Linked DNA regions of Homo sapiens: region 1 is linked to region 2. The links are contacts of gene promoters, found by promoter capture Hi-C in human tissues and cell types (Jung and others, 2019). All regions are on one chromosome and are shown on one strand. The core of a region is centred on a gene start or on the middle of the fragment in contact, and the rest is flanking DNA. Distances in the headings are between cores, read along the strand shown. Region 1 overlaps NETO2 (neuropilin and tolloid like 2). Region 2 holds the start of ABCC12 (ATP binding cassette subfamily C member 12).

The links. The method cuts DNA at HindIII sites, captures the fragments that hold promoters and counts their contacts. A contact is called where the count stands out against the background at its distance.
Region 1: a contact is called between a fragment that was not itself captured here and the fragment with the promoter of ABCC12 in region 2, in 2 of the 25 tissues and cell types used here (dorsolateral prefrontal cortex and mesenchymal stem cells).

Annotation. Positions count from the first base shown.
Region 1 is chr16:47,094,640-47,100,619 of GRCh38, forward strand. The region is part of intron 7 of NETO2 (neuropilin and tolloid like 2); the gene reads right to left. Among named protein-coding and RNA genes, the nearest start is that of NETO2, 46 kb to the right of the region's middle. The HindIII fragment of the contact is 5,022 bases long and covers 1-3,873 here.
Region 2 is chr16:48,153,082-48,159,618 of GRCh38, forward strand. ABCC12 (ATP binding cassette subfamily C member 12) reads right to left here and starts at 2,912. Exons shown (of 31, transcript NM_001393797.1): 1 at 2,760-2,912; 2 at 535-803. RefSeq lists an enhancer at 4,896-6,095. The HindIII fragment of the contact is 12,201 bases long and covers 2,541-6,537 here.

The DNA of each region.
Region 1 (5,980 bases), core at 113-2,612, 1.1 Mb before region 2:
TGGTCTCAATCTTGTTGACCTCATGATCTGCCCGCCTTGGCCTCCCAAAGTGCTGGGATTACAGGCATGAGCCACCGCGCCTGGCCATTTATTTTTTGAGACGGGGTCTTGCTCTGTCACCCAGGCTGGAGTGCAGTGGTGCAATCTTAGCTCACTCCAACCTCTGCCTCCTGGGTTCAAGTGATCCTCCCATCTCAGTCTCCTGAGTGGTGCATACCACCACGCCCAGCTAATTTTTGTATTGTTAGTAGAGATGGGGTTTCACCATGTTGGCTAGGCAGGCTGGTCTCAAACTCCTGAGCTCAAGCGATCCACCCGCCTCGGCCTCACAAAAGCTGGAATTACATGTATGAGCCGCTGTGCCTGGCCTAGGAACCCAAAGAAGAATCCTAAAATCTGTCTTCAAAATTTCTCCACTTTTAAGTTGTGGTGGTTGTCTGTGTATGAGCTACAACCTTTAATAAGAAAAACTTCCCACATGCTTACCAAATAGTGAAGATAACTTTTAAAAACTTAAGCAGTTCATAAAAACACAATCTCCATAGTAACCATAAGAACATATCTATAAAATATACACAAAAGGAAATGCGAAGGGAATCAAAACTTGTCACTACAAAAAAAAATCAATTAAAGAAAAGAAGGCAGTAATGGAGGAAATGAGAGACAACAAAGCTATAGACACACAGAAAACAAGTAGCAAAGTGACAGAACCTTCCTCATCAGCAATTAAACATAAATAAACTCTCCAATCAAAAGAAGAGATTGCAGAATTGATGGGAAAAAACAAGATCCAATTATATGCTGCCTGTAGGACACTCACTTTAAAGATATAAAAAAGTTGAAAGTAAAAGGATGGACAAAGATATTCCATGCAAATAGTTGCTAAAAGACAGCTAGGGGGTGGCAAGACTAGTCTTGGATAAAAAAGGACACGGTATATTGATAAAAGGGTCAATTCACCCAGAAGATATAACGATTATAAACATATATGGACTAAAAACAAAGGAGCCCTAAAATATATGAAACAAACATTGATAGAACTGATGGGAGAAGTAGACACTTGTACAATAGTAATTGGAGACTTCAACATTGCACTTTCAATAAAGGATAGAATGACCAGGCAGAACATCAATAAGAAAATAAAGGACCTGAACACCACTATAGACCAAATGGACCTAACATATACAGAAAATTCCACCCAATAACAGAAAAATGTAATTTTTCTCAATTACACATCAGACAGTCTCTAGAATAGACTACGTATGTTCAGCCACAAAACAAGTCTTAATATATTTTAAATGACTGAAATATAAAATTTATTTTCAAATCAAAATGGAATGAAACTAGATATCAACAACTGAAGGAAAATGAAAAAATTCACAAGTCTGTGTAAATTAAACTACACACTCTTACACAACTTTTAAAGCTGTGATTTCAAAAAAGAAATCCACGGGAAATTATAAGATACCTTGAGACAAATGAAACCCAAAACATGCCAAAACTTATGCAGAGTACTAAAAGCAGTAGTAAAAGGGAAATTTACACCTGTAAATGCCTACATTAAAAAAGAAGAAACAACTTAGATCAATAGTTTAACTTTATACCTTAAGGAACTAGAGAAAGAAGACAAACTAAATCCAAAGCTAGCAGAAGTAACAAAATAATAAAGATTTGAGTGACAATAAATAAAATAGAAAACAGAAAAAGAGCAAAAACCCAAAACTTGATTCTTTGGACAGATCAACAAGACTGACAAACCTGTGGCTAGAATTATTAAGAACAAAAAGACTCAAATTATTAAAATCAGAAATGCAACTGGAGACATTACTACAGATCTGACGTATATAAAAAGAATCATAAGTGAATACTAAGAACAACTGTATGCCAACAAACTGACAACCTAGAGGAAATGGATGAATTCCTAGAAACACACAATCAAAACTGCATAATGAAGCCAAAGAAAATCTGAATAGGCCTAAAACTAGCAAGGAGATTAAAAAAAGAATCCAGAACTTCTCAACAAAGAAAGGCTCTGGATCACATGGCTTCACTGGTGAATTCTACTAAACATGTAAAGAATTAACACCAATCAGTTGATTCCTGGGCAAGATGGCCGAATAGGAACAGTTCCAGTCTGCAGCTCCCCATGAGATCAAGGCAGAAGGCAGGTGATTTCTGCATTTCTAACTGAGGTACCCAGCTCATTTCACTGGGACTGGTTAGACAGTGGGTACAGCCCACGGAGGACGAGTAGGAGCAGGGTGGAGGGTCACCTCACTTGGGAAGCTCAAGGGGTCGGGGAACTCCCTCCCCTAGCCAAGGGAAGCCATGAGGGAACGGCGCATTCTGGCCCAGATACTACACTTTTCCCATGGTCTTCACAACCCGCAGACCAGGAGATTCCCTCGGGTGCCTACACCACCAGGGACCTGGGTTTCAAGCATAAAACTGGCGGCCATTTGGGCAGACACCGAGCTACCTGCAGAAGTTTTTTTTCATACCCTAGTGGTGCCTGGAACGCCAGCGAGACAGAACTGTTCATTCCCCTGGAAAGGGGGCTGAAACCAGGGAGCCAAGTGGTGTAGTTCAGCAGATCCCACCCCCACGGGGCCCTTCAGACGAAGATGCACTGGCTAGAAATTCTCACTGCCAGCACAGCAGTCTGAAGTTGACCTGGGACGCTTGAGCTTGGTAGGGGGAGGGGCATCTGCCATGACTGAGGCTTGAGTAGGTGGTTTTCCCCTCACAGTGTAAACAAAGCCACAGGGAAGTCTGAACTGGGCAGAGCCCACCGCAGCTCAGCAAAGCTGCTGTAGCCAGACTGCCTCTCTAGATTCCTCCTCTCTGGGCAGGGCATCTCTGAAAGAAAGGCAGCAGTCCCAGTCAGGGGCTTATAGATAAAACTCCCATCTCCGTGGGACAGAGCACCTGGGGGAAGGGGCCGCTGTGGGTGCAGCTTCAGCAGACTTAAACGTTCCTGCCTGCCGGCTCTGAAGAGAGCAGCAGACCTCCCAGCACAGCACTCGAGCTCTCCTAAGGGACATACTGCCTCCTCAAGTGGGTCCCTGATCCCCATGCCTCCTGACTGGGAGATACCTCACAGAAGGGGTCGACAGACACCTCACACAGGAGAGCTCCAGCTGGCATCTGGTGGGTGCCCTTCTGGGACGAAGCTTCCAGAGAAAGGAAAAGGTAGCAATCTTTGCTATTCTGTAGCCTCCACTAGTGATACACAGGCAAACAGGGTCTGGAGTGGACCTCCAGCAAACTCCAGCAGATCTGCCGCAGAGGGGCCTGACTGTTAGAAGGAAAACTAACAAACAGAAAGGAATAGCATCAACATCAATAAAATGGGCGTCCACACATAAACCACATCCAAAGGTCACCAACATCAAAGACCAAAGGTAGATAAATCCATGAAGATAAGGAAAAAACACTGCAAAAAGCCTGAAAATTCCAAAAACCAGAACTCCTCTTCTCCTCCAAAGGATCACAACCCCTTGCCAGCAAGGGAACAAAACTGGATGGAGAATGAATTTGATGAATTGACAGAAGTAGGCTTCAGAATGTGGGTAATAACAAACTTCTCCGAGCTAAAGGAGCATGTTCTAACCCAATGCAAGGAAGCTAAGAACCTTGAAAAAAGGTTAGAGGAATTGCTAACTAGAACAACCAGTTTAGAGAAGAACATAAATGACCTGATGGAGCTGAAAAACACAGCATGAGAACTTCGTGAAGCATATGTAAGTATCAACAGCTGAATGGATCAAGTGGAAGAAAGGATATCAGAGATTGAAGATCAGTTTAATGAAATAAAGCGGGAAGACAAAATTAGAGAAAAAAGAATTAAAAGGAACGAACAAAGTCTCTAAGAAATATGGGACTACGTGAAAAGACCAAACCTACGTTTGACTGGTGTACCTGAAAGTGACAGGGAGAATGGAACCAAGGTGGAAAACACTCTTCAGGATATTATCCAAGAGAACTTCCCCAACCTAGCAAGACAGGCCAACATTCAAATTCAGGAAATACAGAGACCACCACAAAGATACTCCTTGAGAAGAGCAACCCCAAGACACATAATCGTCAGATTCACCAAGGTTGAAATGAAGGAAAAAATGTTAAGGGCAGCCAGAGAGAAAGGTCGGGTTACCCACAAAGGGAAGCCCATCAGACTAACAGCGATCTCTCTGCAGAAACCCTACAAGCCACAAGAGAGTGGGGGCCAATATGCAACATTCTTTTTTTTTGTGTATGTGACGGAGTCTCGCTCTGTCACAATCTAGGCTCACTGCAACCTCTGCCTCCTGGGTTCAATGGGTTCAAGCAATTCTCTCAGCCTCACGAGTAGCTGGGATTACAGGCGCCCACCACCACACCTGGGTAATTTTTGTATTTTTAGTAGAGATGGGATTTCAACATCTTGGCCAGGCTGGTCTTGAACTCCTGACCTCGTGATCCACCTGCCTTGGCCTCCCAAAGTGCTGGGATTACAGGTGTGTGAGCCACTGCGCCCAGCCTCAACATTCTTAAAAGAATTTTCAACCCAGAATTTCATATCCAGCCAAACTAAGCTTCGTAAGTGAAGGAGAAATAAAATCCTTTACAGACAAGCAAATGCTAAGAGACTCTGTCACCACCAGGCCTGCCTTACAAGAGCTCCTGAAGGAAGCACTAAATATGGAAAGGAAAAACTGGTACCAGCCACTGCAAAAACATACCAAATTTTAAAGACCATTGACACTATGAAGAAACTGCAACAACTAATGGGCAAAATAACCAGCTACCATCATAATGACAGGATCAAATTCGCACATAACAATATTAACCTTAGATGTAAATGGGCTAAATGCCCCCAATTAAAAGACGCAGACTGGCAAATTGGATAGAGTCAAGACCCATCAGTGTGCTGTATTTAGGAGATCCATCTCATGTGCAAAGACATACATAGGCTCAAAATAAACAGATGGAGGAATATTTACCAAGCAAATGGCAAGAAAAAAAAAAGCAGAGGTTGCACTCTAGTCTCTGATAAAACAGACTTTAAACTAACAATGATCAAAAAAGACAAAGAAGGGCATTACATAATGGTAAAGGGATCAACGCAACAAGAGCTAACTATCCTAAATATATATATGCACCCAATACAGGAGCACCCAGATTCATAAAGCAAGTTCTTAGAGACCTACAAAGAGACTTAAGACTCCCACACAATAATAGTGAAAGACTTTAACAACTCATTGTCAATATTAGACAGATAACGAGACGGAAAATTAACAAGGATATTCAGGACTTGAACTCAGCTCTGTACCAAGCAGACCTAATAGACATCTATAGAACTCTTCAACCCAAATCAACAGAATGTACATTCTTCTCAGCACCACATAACACTTATTCTAAAATTGACCACATAATTGGAGGTAAAACACTCCTTAGCAAATGCAAAAGAACAGAAATCATAACAAACAGTCTCTCAGACAACAGTGCAATCAAATTAGAACTCAGGATTAAGAAACTCACTCAAAACCACACAACTACATGGAAACTGAACAACCTGCTCCTGAATGACTATGGGGTAAATAACAAAATTAAGGCAGAAATAAATAAGTTCTTTGAAACCAATGAGAACAGATACAACGTACCAGAATCTCTGGGACACAGCTAAAGCAGTGTTTAGAGGGAAATTTACAGCACTAAATGCCCACAGGAGAAGGTGGGAAAGATCTAAAATCGACACCCTAACATCACAATTAAAAGAACTAGAGAAGCAAGAGCAAACAAATTCAAAAGTTAGCAGAAGACAAAATAACTAAGATCAGAGCAGAACTGAAGGAGACAGAGACACAAAAAAAAACAAAAGCAATGAGTCCAGGAGCTGGTTTTTTGAAAAGATTAACAAAATAGATAGACCGCTAGTCAGACTAATAAAGAAGAAAAGAGAGAAGAATCAAATAGACACAATAAAAAATGATAAAGGAGA
Region 2 (6,537 bases), core at 1,662-4,161:
ATAAATTTTCACTCCTGCTCTAAAAAAATAAAAATAAGTAAATGAAATGTGTAAAAGAACAGTATTGGAACATTGGAGAAATCTAAATATGGACTATAGATTCTGCAATAATATTTTATCAAAGATAAATTTCCTGATTTTGATATTAATGCTAAAGTAAATGTGGCAAAAATGTCACTGCAAATCTCAGTGAAGGGTAGTTGGGATCTCTTAGCATTATTTCTGTTACTTTTCTGTAAGTTTGAAATCATTACAAAATAAAAAGTTAAGCATTTTCTAAAGAAATAGCCCTAAAGGGGATGATTTTTTTTTCCTTCTGTGGAACTAAATGCAATTTTTCTGCACACTTCTCAGCTCTCAGGAGCCATGCATCCTCCACTGATGTCCTCTTCATGTGCCCTGTGATATTTGAGGACCATTGTCATTTCCGACAACTCACTCCCAGCCACCCAGTGGCTAGTCCTCTCTCATCCAGGCTAATCTTTCCCAGCCCCTTTGAGAAGGTGGAACTCATTGTCAGTGGAGAACCCTTACCTATAACTTCTATTTTTTGGTTCCCTTTTCTAATGGTAAGGGACCCTGGCAGCAAGATGTCATCAGCTTGTCTTAAGGGCTCCTGAGTCCCAGATGCCAAACACTGGAGGCCAGGCCTCCCTGGCCAGGTTTGAGTAATCAGCGCGCATAGGAAATTGGTGCTAGAAGGTAATTTCCTTGAGTGCTCCCCAGGGCATGTGAAGTTTTGATGATCTGAGGCGGCTTGGAAGCATTGCAGCTGGAATGGCACTTTGCTAAATTTGGCAGCCCTGGGGGGAAAAATGAGACTTTTTTTAAAATCAGGAAGCCTGCTTTGGCTAACGTCTCTATCCCCGTCTGTCACGCCATCCTCTGCCAGGAGTGAGGAGCTGCCTGGGGTGAGAAATCTGTTTGCTGGCAATCACAGGATGGGGTCTGAGGGGTACACAGCTGATGAGAGCTGGGAGGAGGCAGTGCCAACCGGGCCAGGGTCCCTGCAGCCATCATGGCTCTGTTCTTGGCATTGTGTTTTCCATGCAGAGCATCTGAGGGTTGGCAGGAGATGCCAAAAAGTCACTGGTGCACCCCTCTGCTAGCAGGCAGGGGGTTCCTAACCTAACCTCAACAGACTGGACAGGCAGAAGCAGGAAGGCCTCTGTTTAGAGCACAGGACACAAAGACCATGTACAACTTGCAGTTCCATTTTATATGGCCTGCATAGTTTAAACATTTTTTTCCAATTTGTGGAAAACATTTAAAAATGAGGAGATACCACATTAAAAAAAAAATAAGACTGGCTTCTGGCTTTCGTCAAATATCAAGAGCTCTGTATGTTCATGTGGTGACAATCCACTTACGTTGAGCACGGCAGCCCCTCCTGGGCAGGGTATACATGCTTTAGTTTGCCACAATCCCCACCACTCCTTACTGTCTCTGTGACTCTGAGATTTGGGGTCATGTAACATTTATTATTGCATTGGCACTGCTGTCTTCCTTATAGTGTTTCCTGAGGCCTTTTTCTCTATCCTTGTCTCTGCCCCAAGAGAGAACAAAAGATGTCTAGAAGTCATCTCAAGAAGAACCATTTTCCACACCTGCCCACTTTGCTCTGTTATATTTCATTTCTGCCCCTGTCTAGCCCAGAAAATTAACAACTTTATGTTTGAGAACTGGACTCTGGGTCTTCCTTGGTGCTCATGATGGGAGTTCCTCCATCAACCAAAAGCAGGCACACCTTTAGTCATAAAATTTTTCCCAGGTATGAGACTACAGCCCTACTTCTTTCTTAATAAATCCATTGTTAATTTAAAGCCACCAAAGTTATCAATATCTGATGGTCTCCCCCAACTCCCACAGCCCCTTCCTCCAGGGCCTGACTGGCCTCCAGCACAGAGGAGACACTGGGGAGCTCTCCCAGGCCCTGCCTGCACCGCACCTCTCCTGTCTGTCCCCAGGTCCCAGGCACCTGTGGCAGCCAGATCAGAAAGCCCTGTGAGTGATGAGGGACTGGGGTTGGGAGGCAGGGAGAGGCAGAGAGGTGGCAGAGGGAAGTGCATGCAGGGGACAGCACCAAGCTGGGGGTGTGGGAAGGGAAGTGGGGGTGCTTTTGCTCAAGTACCCTCATCTCCCAGAAGGCCTAAAACAGTGGCCAGTGATGGCATCTCCAAAAGAGGTCATCCATCCAGTTACAGACACATTCCGACACGATCAAAGAAGGATGCAGAGCCTGGATTCAGAGCAATTCAAATCTACCCTCCCAGGAAAATAATATATTTAAAAGTTAAAAAAAAAAAAAAAAGAAAGAAAGATGAAAACCTCATATGAGAACTGCAGTAAAGCTTTCCAGGTCTTTTTTTTTGGGGGGGAGGTATAAATCCCATAATTAAATTGTGAACACTACCCTGTATATGTGTTTGTGTTTGTGCATGTGTGGGAAAAGACTTAAAATATTCAATGTAGGCTTTTGTATTTCAGAGATTTTGAAATCGCGTCTTGGCATTTCTGCCTTTTCTTTTATGATAGCGGGGGCTCCAAAAGTGGAAGAGGGGCTGCCTTTCTTCTGGGAGCCTCGTCCCTGCTGCCTCCCACTTGGGCAGCCCCATTCAGTGGTGTCACCTCCCCCAAACCCCCCACCACACACACACACAGCCTGTCCTGAGGATGAGAAACAAAGGCCCTTGGGACTAAATGGTGGCCACTAATTGTTACAGGGAGAAGCTTTACCTGGGCTGGAAATGAAGCTTTACCTGGGCTGAGGATGAGAGGGAGGGGAGGAGGGTCAGCAGTCATGGGGCTCAGAGCCTGGCATCTGCTGCCCAGGACTCCAGGGCCTGCTTCTCCCCAAGGACCTCAGATTCAGTTTCTCTTGTCCCACCCGCCTGAAGTCCTCCTCTCCAACTGCCCCATTCAACTGCCACTCCCACCACACCTGAGAGGGAACTCTGGCGGGCCAACATTCCCTCTGCCCACATTAAAGGGCTCTCCCCTCTTCCAGGATGGCCTGTGGCCGGGTCTGGCTCTTTGGTGACAGTCAGAGCCCATGCATGAAAGCACTGTGCATGGCCAGCCCTTCCCTGGCTGTCACAGCACATCCTTGTAGAAGAGAAGGAGAAAAATCCTCTCTCCAACCGTCATTCTACAGACGAGAAGCCCAAGGAACAGAAGCCTGTCCACGACTGGCGTGGGGCTGAGACCAGCACCCAGGTCCCCTGAGTCCCACTCCAGGCTCCTTCCTGAGAGAATGCATCGAATTTTCTACGCTGTGTTCCTGCAACCGGGAATCAACTTTGGGATCAGGGGAAGGGAAGGGAGGGGAGGGGAGGGCAGGGGTAGGGGAGGGCAGGGGTAGGGGAGGGCAGGGGAGGCGAGGGGAGGGGAGATGAGCCTCATCTTCAAAACAGAAAATCTCATTCATTCATTCCCCATTCATTTAACGAAAAAGAAAAGGGTAATTTGAGCTCAATTTGTCTTGAAATGAACGGAAGGTAAGTCTGAGACCTGCACTAGCAGCTAGCCCTTGCATAGAAAAGTTCCCCTGTGTCACCCTTGGAACCCTGCACATCCCGAGCGCAAGCGTGATTCCCGGGGTCCCTTCTGCGCCTGTCCCAGAACAAGCGCCCGATTTCAGGGGAGCCCAGCCGAAGGGTTCCACAGCGCTCAGCGAGCCGGCTGGGAGGGAGCAAACTCTCTAACTGCAGAAAAAAACAAATCTTGATTCCGCTTTAAGGGTTATTTAAACATCTTAGAGGACCTTCCCAGCCTCACGCACGTGGATTTCATGAGGAACTTGGCCGCTACCTTCTCCTGTCCTGCGCAATGCCGCCCCCTGCTGGCTGCCTTCCGGCCCCGCCGCTTCCTGGAGATGCGAATTCACCGCCTTTGCCCAACCTGAGTTCCCTTCCTACCTAGAGGGAGGTGGAAATGGAGAGGGGCTGTGGGCAGCTGTGTAGGAAAATGGGTCCTCCCAGGAAGGCTCCCCGGCCTGGGGAGTGAGCTAGACCGACAGCAGTTTCCTTACACGTGTCCAAAGTGTTCCATTTAATTTCCGTCCATTCTTCCCTTCATGAATGCAAATCACTGCTAATAATATCACTCGACATTTCTGGAGCCCTTTGTGTATCGCAAAATTCTTCATCCTCTTTATCACTTGATCTTCGCAACAACCCCGGGGGTCTCATAAACACAGCAAAGACTCGCTTCCACAATCTTCCAAACGGAGTCAAGTGCTGTCAAGTTTATGGAGGAAGAATGCCGATCAGTTTTCCTCTATCTCCATGAAAGGCTGGGCGGAGATGGATTTCCACCCAGACAAACAGTATTGGGCGCTACGCAAGAAGATTGGTGGGCCTAGCCGGAAACAGAGTGGAGAATGATGGAGAGGGACTGTCCGGTCTGTATCCAAGGAAGTCCTTAGGAAAAGACCAGCCAAGCTCCTGTTCCAGGCAGAGCGTGGACTCACCCATAGTCAGGGAACTGAGGCCCATCCTGGGTGTACACACAGCTCGCGGGGGGGCGAGATAATCCACTGGAATACAAAAAGAAAAAAAATAGAAATCCTTTTCATATTTCTCCTCTTCCTTTAAAAATTCTATTTTGGCTGTGTGCAGAGGCTCAGGCCTATAATCCCAGTACTGGGGGGCCAAGGCAGGTGGATCACTTGAGCCCAGGCATTCAAGACAAGCCTAGGCAACATGGTGAAACCCCATCTCTACTGAAAATACAAAAATTAGCTGGGCGTGGTGGCATGTGTCTGTAGTCCTAGCTACTTGCGAGGCTGAGGTGGGAGTATGAATTGAGCCAGGGAAGTCAGGACTGCAGTGAGCTGTGATCGTGCCACTGCATTCAGGCCTGGATGATGAGAGTGACTCTGTCTCAAAAAAAAAAATTGTGTACAGTGATATACATGTGTAGGGGAGAAAAAGTGTGATACTTTTCCTCACCAGTCATGTGGGTCATGGCTGACACTCTTGTAACAAAAGGCAGACTAACAAAAGGAAAGCATAACAATTTTATTTCATCAAAGTTTAATGTGACATGTGAGTCTTCAGAAATGAATACCGAAAGGCTCAGGAAGAACTGTCCATTTTTATGCTTAGACTCAATGAGGAATGGACAGTGGTATAGAAATGCGATTGGACAGAAAGTTCTGATTAACTGTAATGGACCGAGGTGATGGGATGGGGACCCAGCAGGGCCTGTCTGTTCAGATTCTTCTTGGCCTCTCTGCACAGCATTTCTTCTTTCTAGGTATGGGGCACGACCCCTCTGGAATGAGGGTCTTAGGACCTACTCTCAGACAAAGTTGGTCAGAGAATTTCTTTACGGCCAGCTCCTGTGCAGAAGGGTGGAGGAAAGTTTGAGTCATAGTTTTAGGTTCTATCGGTGGCTTTGGGGGAAGAATTTCTATGACTCACCTTGGGGAAGGGGAACTCTGGTTTCTATGACTCACCTCATGGGAGAAGAGGTGCACAAGGGGTGCAGGAGGGCAGGAGAAGGTCAGAGAGAACTTGCTTCTGAGGCTGCTTCTGAGGTCATCCAAACTCCATCAGTTCAAAGTACTCAGCCTGCCAAAGTGCCATACTTTGGGGTATTGTTGTCCGAGCCTCAACACATGTCCACCCTGCACATCCTTGTAAATAACTATACATGCATAAATTAGGGGTCTGTGTGCGCACATACCAGCAGTGGTGCTCCATGGCAAGGGAAAATTGGTGCTTGATGGGAAGGAAATTTTCCCAGCTCTGAGGTTCTGTGGGGTCTCTATTCCAAAGTGAGGTTCTCGCCGGGCATGGTGCTTCACACCTGTAATCCCTGAACTTTGGGAGGCTTGGGCAGGCAGATCACCTGAAGCTAGGAGTTCAAGACCAGCCTGGCCAACATGGTTGAAACTCCATCTCTACTAAAAATACAAAAATTAGCCGGGCATGCTGATGCACACCTGTAGTCCCAGCTACTCGGGAGGCTGAGGCAGGAGAATCGCTTGAACCCTGGAGGCAGAAGTTGCAGTGAGCCGAGATTGTATCATTGCATTCCAGCCTGGGCGACAGAGCAGGACTCTGTCTTAACAATGACAACAAAAAAGTGAGGTTCTGTCTGAAAAAAAAAATAGAGAGAGAGGAGTGGGGAGACAAAGACGGAAAGAGACAGATAAGAGAGAAAGAGCAGAAAGACTTGGCCCAAAGGCCCCAAGAAGTGCTCAGAAATCAGTGTGTGCAGTTACATAGAATCAATAGCTCACAGTGGCTAAGAGTAGAAACTCTGGAATCAGATCTGTCCTCAAAATCTCTAAATTTCAATGTCGTCAACTACAAAATGAAAACACTATCCTGAAAGCATTGTAAATTAACTAAGGATTAAAGTGGATCATGGAAGTGAAGCGCTTAAACACAGTGCCTTAAACAAACACTCAATAAATGGTAGCTATTGTTTGTGAATAAGAATTTTAAAATTAGCAGGATCTCAGCAGGGCGCGGTGGCTCACACCTGTAATCCCAGCACTTTGGGAGGCCGAGGGGGGCAGATCAC